Linked DNA regions of Homo sapiens: region 1 is linked to region 2. Evidence: promoter capture Hi-C in human tissues and cell types (Jung and others, 2019). All regions are on one chromosome and are shown on one strand. The core of a region is centred on a gene start or on the middle of the fragment in contact, and the rest is flanking DNA. Distances in the headings are between cores, read along the strand shown.

The links. Contacts are between HindIII fragments. The study calls those that stand out against the background at their distance.
Region 1: a contact is called between a fragment that was not itself captured here and the fragment with the promoter of SLC25A48 in region 2, in 2 of the 25 tissues and cell types used here (IMR-90 fibroblasts and lymphoblastoid cells).

Annotation. Positions count from the first base shown.
Region 1 is chr5:136,228,800-136,232,859 of GRCh38, reverse strand. TRPC7 (transient receptor potential cation channel subfamily C member 7) reads left to right here. Exons shown (of 12, transcript NM_020389.3): 8 at 1,311-1,506. The region is part of intron 1 of TRPC7-AS2 (TRPC7 antisense RNA 2); the gene reads right to left. Among named protein-coding and RNA genes, the nearest start is that of TRPC7-AS2, 4.2 kb to the right of the region's middle. The HindIII fragment of the contact is 4,556 bases long and covers 1-3,652 here.
Region 2 is chr5:135,832,931-135,837,277 of GRCh38, reverse strand. It overlaps SLC25A48 (solute carrier family 25 member 48), which reads right to left and starts at 2,615. Exons shown (of 8, transcript NM_001349336.2): 1 at 2,385-2,615. The coding sequence starts at 2,430. RefSeq lists an enhancer at 3,149-3,650. The HindIII fragment of the contact is 4,672 bases long and covers 668-4,347 here.

The DNA.
Region 1 (4,060 bases), core at 125-2,624, 400 kb before region 2:
TTTCTTACAGTGGTACCAAAAATCTGGATGAAAACTAAAAGAACTGCACTTAACCATTCAGATGTTACCAGATATACATGCATGGTCTAAACCTCCCAACCAAAATCCAGCTTTCTTATTCGATTCTAGGTCATCAGCCTGATACAGTGTCATGCCCATAGAGTATGGACTACGAAATGCACTTGGGTCTTATTCATAACACTACTGTATTTCAGTTACTTCGTAGTCTCAAAAGGGCCAAAGAGCAGTGTCGTTAAAGCTGAGACTAACCTGAACTGCCTTCAAGGCACATGCAGCATCTAACCTAAGTGAGCCGTAGGGTGAGGTTTGGGCAATCACCTGGTGATTTTGAACCATGTGGGCACACCAAAATCCCCACTCTCATTCTTGATAATTCAGCCCCAGTTTAGAAAGCTTAATACATGTGGCTAGCCTCAGCTCTGTAACAGGAGGTCATATGAGAGCCCGCCACAGAGCTGGTCATGAGGCTTAAGTGAGCTGCTCTTTGTCGAGTGCCTAGAAGTGTCAGACTCCAGGGATGCCATCCTCCTGTGTGGACACTGCCCACTTTCCAGGTGTCTGCCATCACTCCCCTTCACGTGGGCTGTGGAGTCTGAGAAGAAATGGTTAGGGCTTAATGGAAGGAAGAATGCACTTTCTGGGGCTCATAATGCACAAGAACAAACATTTACCCAGGTGTTTAATTTTAAATGTTTAAGTTAATTACAGTAAGAGAAAAGTGATACCACAGCCAGGAGTCCCAATAAATGGATTGAATAAAAAATAAAGAGCTTGCCATTTTTAATATTCTTTCAAAGTCTTCTTAGAAATCTGAATATCACATTATCTCAGAATGCAGGCATCACCAACCAGCCCAGCCCCACTCCAGGGTAACAACTGGGCACTCCAGGGTAAAGCATGACCAATGGCAACTTTCATTTTAAAAGTTCAAGCTGGCCAGATGCAGTGGCTTACATCTGTCATCCCAGCACTGTGGGAGGCTAAGATGGGATGATACCTTGAGCCCAGGAGTTCAAGACCAGCCTGGGCGACATAGTGGGATCCTATCCCTACAAAAAATGAAACAATTAGCCAGGTGCGGTGGTGCACAGCTGTAGTCCCACCTACTCAGGAGGCTAAGGCAGGAGAATTGCTTGAGTCCAGGAGGTCAGGGCTAGAGTGAGCCATGATTGAGCCACTGCACTCCAGCCTAGGCAACAGAGTGAGACCCTGTCTCAAGATAAATGAATGAATAAATAAAAGTTCAAGCTGATGCAAACTGCGTAAAAGGACCGTCTGTTTCTTTGCAGGGTTGAAGAAAGTTTTAAAACTTTGTTTTGGTCCATATTCGGCTTATCTGAAGTAATCTCAGTGGTGCTGAAATACGACCACAAATTCATCGAGAACATTGGCTACGTTCTCTACGGCGTTTATAACGTCACCATGGTGGTAGTGTTGCTCAACATGCTAATAGCCATGATAAACAACTCCTATCAGGAAATTGAGGTAAGGCCAGGTCACTGAAAATGCTTGCTCTCCTTCATCTAATTTACATTGCTTTTTTCAGCAATGAGGGGAATGATGTTAGAAGCCCATGTGTTGTTAAATGTGCAGCCAGAACAGCAAAGAACAGGCATTCTTCCTGGATTGCTTCTAGAAATAGAAGCAGTCAAAGTCAGTCTGCCCCATGGCATTGCTGGTACCACCATGAGGCCCAGCGAGAGCAGAAAGAACTGGGGTCATGAGTCTTCTCTCTTTTACACTTGTCTTCTCAGGACCTCGTGCAGATGACCCATGGCAATCAATCAGAATGACTTTCAGCCCCCAGGCCCCTTTCGCCTCTCACGTGTTATTTATTAAGTACCTACTGTATGCCAAATCCGCACTAGGCACTGGTGATACCAAGATGACTAAGACACAGTTCCTGCCTAGAGAAACTCATAGTCCAGTGAGGAGATCATACAGGGCAATCAACAAATTCCAATGCCCTGGGGCCAGTGCAACCAGGTTGTGGGGAGTGGTGTGGGGACAGAGACAGAGATTGACTATGGGGGAAGCTTCCAGAGGTGATGCTGGAAGGCCATTTAAAAACAGAACAATTTTGCCTGACAGATAAAGGGGTTGAGAGAATGTATCAGGAAGCAATTTATCAAAATCTAAAAGGCATGAACCATAAGCTATTGATTGCAGCTTGTTTGGAACAGCAAGAAATTAAAAACAAACTGAGCATTAATAGGAATCTAATTAAATAGACTACGATGCATCTGAAAAATGGGATGCTGTGCAATTCTATTTTAAGAAGGATAAATATGTTCTGTATATGCTGATGGGGAAAGACCTTCAAGTTACAGTGGTAGGAGGTAAAAATCAAGTTCCAGAACAATGTATATAGTGGGCTCTCTCTTGTGTAAGAGAGAAAGAAAAGGGAATGTGATTCATTTGTGATTGTATAAGCAAATGAAAAGAACAAACCTCTGAAAGGTCCACAAGAAAGACACCACGGGGTGCCTGTTGAGAGGTGGGAATAGGGGGCATGGTGGGTGGAATTCCTTTTTCTTTATACTTTTTATCCTTTATAAATCATGTTGTTGCTTTACCTTCTACATGATTAAATAAATAAGCTAAAGTTAAAATAAAAAGCACTGACCTATTGACTCAACAATTCCAATTCTGGGAATAGATCCAATATCATTTTACGTAGATGTTCGTTAAAGGAAAAACCTGGAAATAGTCCATTGATATGAGAATGTTTAAATAAACTGTGATATAGTCACACTTTAGAATAAGGTGTAGGATACTGTACATCCAGCATGAGAAAGACTGTTTTGTACTGACATGGGAAAATCCCTAACACATTATTAAGTGAAAAAATGCAAGTTATAGAAAAATACAAATAGGGGAATCTAATCTATGTAACAGTACAAATGCAAACATAGAGAAGAACTCCAAGGAGGCTACAGGGCTTTTGACCGGGCGTCCTCTGGGGAAGGGAATAAAAGGAGAGAAGATCTGAAATGGGACTTTCACATTTCCTGGTGCACCTCTGTCCTTAAATTATAAGAAACAATTGTTTATATACTTCTTATATAGAAAAAGTAAAGATCCCTGTGTATTAACTTGCTAGGGCTTTCCTAAAAAATACCACAGACTGTGTGGCTTAAACATTAGAAGTTTCTTCCCTCACAGTTCTAGAGGCCACAAGTCCAAGATCAACATCAGCAGGGTTGGCTCCTTCTGAGCCTCTCTGCTTGGCTTGCAGATGTCCACCTTCTTGCTGTGTCCTCACACAGCCTTGCCACCAGTCCAAGAAGATCGGGGCCCCATCCTCGTGACCTCATTTAACTTCAGTCACCTTTTAAAGGCTCCATCTCCAAATAGAAGCAAGTCACCTTCTAACTTGCTGGGGGTTAGGGCTTCTACATAGGAATTTAAGGGGGACACAATTCAGTCTATGATACCCTCCCCAAAAAAGAGTACTCTATGCAGTAGGGAGCACATGTACCAAGGCAGGGAGGGGTGAAGCAGTGTGGTATGCTCAGCGCTGCAAGAGCATAGATTGAGCGAGGAAAAAAGGCAAGAGGTGAGAGGAAGAGGTGAGCCTGGCCATGAAGCCTCAGCTGCTGCCCTCCAGAAAAATACAGCACATTGTGGATGGACAAACAACACATATATTTTTAAAGCATTTTACATACTTAATCACCAGTGTGGATAATGAGCTCTTGTCCACTAGTCCTTCCTGCCCTTCTGGGCCTCAGTTTCCCCATGTGTAAGAGAAAACCAGATGGTGCCTGGAAAAGCTGCAGGTCTCTGCACCACTCCCCCCGGCAATCTGCCATATCCTAACAGGCATGTAATGCTTTAGTTGAAATGACAGTAGCATGGGAAGCCTTGCAGTTGGCTGTGAGGGATGCCCACTAGCTGAGGGCAGGAGCAGGCAAGCCCACGGCATGTGATGTCAAGTTATCCCACCACGGAAAGGGGCCGCGACATGCAGAGAGTGTATTACAGCCCCACACCTCCCTCTGGGCTCTGGACTTCTGTCTTACTGGACCATGGAAGG
Region 2 (4,347 bases), core at 1,366-3,865:
CTACTAAACTGGGCAGAGGCAGAGAGGTGATGGCAGTAATTAACCCTTCCCAGTAGTGGGGGGAGGTGCGCTGGTCCTCAGGCTCCATGGCTTCCCCCATAGTGAGTGCACACATCCTTCAGCTCAGGGCAGGCTTAGATCCAGCCTTGGGCCAACATCTCCCTGCCACTTATTAGCCCACCCATCTGAAAGCAGGGGATTTGAGATTTAAAAAAATGGGATTATAAGGTCAGTGATTTCCAGACCTTGGCACTTCACAAACCAGTAAAATCTCAAACAAAATGTGTGTGTGTGTGGGGGGGGGGGGTGGGGGGGGGGATAATATCAAAAAAAGGGCAAAATTTTGTTATGCAAGGTTGTTCAGAAAGAGTTAAGATGAAATTAAGATGGCAGATTCTGGTGCCAGGCAGCCTGGGTTGGAATCCTGGTGCCAATGCTAGATGCATGGTCTTAGGCAAGTCAGTGAATTTCTCTGTATCTCAGTTTCCTCATCTGTAAAATAAGGATGCAACGGTACCTACCTCTTTGGGGTTGTTATAATAATTAAAGAACTATACATAAACTGACACAAGAGATCACATATTGCAAGATTCAATTGACATAACATATACAGGAAAGGCAAATTTACAGAAAGGAGATTAAGGAGAGGGAACAGCATTCAACTTCAAATGAGGGATCTTACTGGGGGATGAAAATGTTCTAAAACAAATTTATGGTGATGGTTGCACCTCTTTGTAAAATTACTAAAAGACATTGAATTGTACATTTGAAATGGGTGAATTTTATAATACATAAAATAAACCTTGATAAAATTGTTTTAAAAGAATACATATAGCACTTAAACTATACCTGGCACCTAGTAAGTATTCAAGTGTAGTAAACACTTACCATCATTTCATGGAAGCCAAAAAAAAAAAAAGCCATGTTATTAGTTTGGTGCAAAAGTAATTGCGATTTTTGCCATTACTTTCAATAACATCACCAAAGTAAGGACCAGAATAAAGCACAAAAATCCCCTACTTGCTGTGAGTCGGGGAGGGTTCACATGTTATCACGTTTGGGGATGGGGAGGGGTATCAGAGTCTTGGAACTACTCTGACTCAGCCCTACCTTCCAGGGCATTTTTCAAACCAAGCCATTTGCATCCCTACCGAAGGTGGTCTGCTTATTTAAGGGGCAGCCCACGGAAGTGTCTCCTCTCTCTGCCTGCCCCGCTGAATGGTGGAATAATTGTCCAGTCAAAAAGGACCTGGATATGCCCAGCGGGCCTCAGGCTGCAGCCCCCTAACTGGGAAAGTTAGGAGAGGCGGGTCTCAGCCCCACCCAAGGGCATCTGTGCCAACAGACTTACTCAAGGTGAAAGGAGCCACCTCTGCTCAGGAAGGTGTGAAGCAGGGCCCTGCAGCCACCGGTCTCGGGAGAGAGGTGGTCTCCTGCTAGGTAGGAGGGGAGGAGTTGGGATCCAATCTGGTTTGTTGTTCTTTTCATCTTATTTTTTCACCCCTTTGGTGAGGGGCTACATTTGCCAACATCCCTTTTAGGATAACCCTTTTAGATGGGTCCAAAGAAAGACTTTTTTTTTTTTTTTTTTTTTTTTTTACAATTAGCAAAGTCCCTCAAACTTCCCCCTTTCCTAATAGCTGAGAAAAGAGGGATAGACCAATTGGAAAGAAAAATGGAGAAGCAAGGAAATGAATGCAACTCTCGCCCAGGCAACCCATCCCAGGCCCAGTAAAAGAGTGGCTTCGGGAGCTGTGGCGAAGGGATCAGCAGACCCAACAGTGCCCGGAGAAGGGGCCTTGGAGGTAGGCGATGGCTGACGGTTGGCGGCGGCTGAAGGCAATAAGTGCTCCTCGCAGCCTGGCAATGGGCACCTGCAGCCGGCGCTCCGCTCCCTGCTGTGAGAGCTCTGCTCCCTCCAGTCGGGACGCCCCGTTGGGCCGGCCTAATCTCGAAGCCTGGCTCCCACCACCCTGCGCCCCGGGATCAGCAGCCAAGCGCTACCCTCATACATAAGTTCCCGCGAGCCACGTCCGCAATTCAGGTGTGCACCAGGTCACTGAAGGGTGTGTGCGCCGCCAGGAGCCTCCATTGGCTGTGGGCTTTGACGAGCTGTTTAATCATTACCTCATCAAGTCCCACGGATCCTAACTTAATGAGCAAATCAGAAGCTCAGCCCGAAACGCTGTGAAGCTCTCAGAATTTAGCCCTGGCAACTGCAAGACCACCAGGGGGATCTCGGGGCCGGGCACTCCCCAAAGCAGGCTGCGCGCACAACGGGGAGCGGGATGGCAGCGCACAGAGGCAAAGTTTCCTCAGAGCATAGAGGCAAACTCCGCCAGGCTCGCTCTCTCTGACCGGGGGTCCCCGGTAAGCACACTCACCTCCGATCCAGCCCGCCGCAAAGTCTTCCAGCTGGAAGCTTCCCATGGCCGGCGCTCGGTCTCGCCCTCCCGGAGCCGGGGCAGTGCCCACTTAGAGTCAGTGGGGCATGGCCCGCGGGCGCGAGCGCGCCGCAAGACCGAAGTCGGAGTCTCGAGCACGCCGCAGGTCCTACTCCAAACCCAGTCCCCCAGTCACCGGCTGCGCGGGCTGCCGCGCTCACCTCTCCAAGTGCCGGAGGGCGGCTGACATCACGCCCCCAGTGGACCTTAAAGGCACAGCACTCTGGGTGGATAAGGGTGCGCTCCGCGCGGCTCATCCCAGACACAAAGAGGCAAGGGTCATCAAGTGAAATTCTCTTAGTCCTCCCTTCTCCGGGTTATCCTCTTCCTTGCCAACTTCAGAGCCTCAGCGCCTTTGAACTGAAAGTGCCAGCCGCCCATCCAGAGACGGCAATGCGCGTATCTCCCTGTACTGTGCTGTGCTGACAATGCTGATTCCAATCAGCTGTGGACTCTCTCCCATCCCAACTCTGGGCAGTGATGCCTTTTTGTTCATCTCAGCCATGTCCCACTCAGTACCCCGTGCCTAGAGCAGGCACCTGGTGGTTCAGGGTCATGTCTAACTTTCAGCTACAGCTCTCTAGGGGCCCAGCTCCCTGCCTGGCCCTGGCTCACCCTACACTGTCCGCCCTGGGCCAACAGAAGGCAGAGGTGGTGCTCTGTACCTCAAACTCCCTCTCTGTAGGCAGACCCTACATTCAGCCAGGCCCCAGGCCAGGGGTCCGTGCTCACTGGAGAAGTGGCCTGCTGTGCGGAGAGGCTTTTGATTACAATGAGAGTGTCTTTCCTCCCTTCCTAAGAAGACTCGAAGCCCCCCAGCGTTCTGCTAGTTTCCAGCAGGGACTCAGCTGTGGGTCTCAGCCAAGACACCCCAAGGTTGACAAGAATGGTGAAGGGTATGGTCAGGAGGAAGGGGCCTCTGCTGGGCCTGCTCTTGTCCCACTGGGCATATTCATGTCACGTCATCCAGGTTAATATGAAGCGACAGCCAGCCAGACCTCCTTCTTCCAAAGCAAGACAGAGCCTGACCACCGAAGCTTGATCCTACAAAGGCCTGTCCACTGAGGAGTGGGGACTTGGAGGTGAAGGGACCTTCCTGCAGCATCACTCCCTCCCCTGCCCCGGCACACAGAGAGTGGACCTGTATCGGGAGAGGACAGCCCGGGATGGAGTCGCCGGCCTGGCTAGGGAAGTATTGCAAAGTTCCAGGGAGGAGTGGAAGCATCACACCCCATCCCGGCACCTCAACTTCCTGCTGCTTATGGTGACCCACTCAGTCTTGAGGCTTCAGAGTTGCCATCAGCATCAACCCCAAGCTGTGCCCTGTCATGCCCGGGATATATGCCTAGGGCTGCTATGAGAAATGCAGGTCTCTGAAGAGTGGCCTTTTACTGAGTTCACCATTGGAATGCATCCACAAGTGGAAAGCCTGACAATTCTCAAAACCCACTCCTCTGGAAGACCACCTAAGGGGTGCCAGGCAGTTTGTCATCCCCTCAGTCCTGTGTCAGCACCAATTGAGGAGGTCTTACGTTGGCAGGCAGTGTCCCTGGCAGCCCAGGATGGCCTCCCAGGCCCAGAAAGCTGCTGCTTGAACTACTAACGAGCTGGAGCAGAGCAGGAGTGGGTTGCTTTCCAAAATGAATTACTGTGCTCCATTCCCATATGCATGCCACAAACCTGCCCATGGGGCGCATCACCCAGGGAAGTGAGGGGAGGACCCTAGGTTTACCAGCAACCATGGCCAGGCCTGGAGAATCCCAGACCACAGGGCTATGAGCCCAGGCAGAATGCTGGCTCTGTGGCCAGGATCCAGGCCATCCCTTCTTCCTGGCCTTCGCACTTCAGAGCACCATTTGCAGTGTGCTGCCATTCACATTTGCATTCTACACTCGGGAGAGGG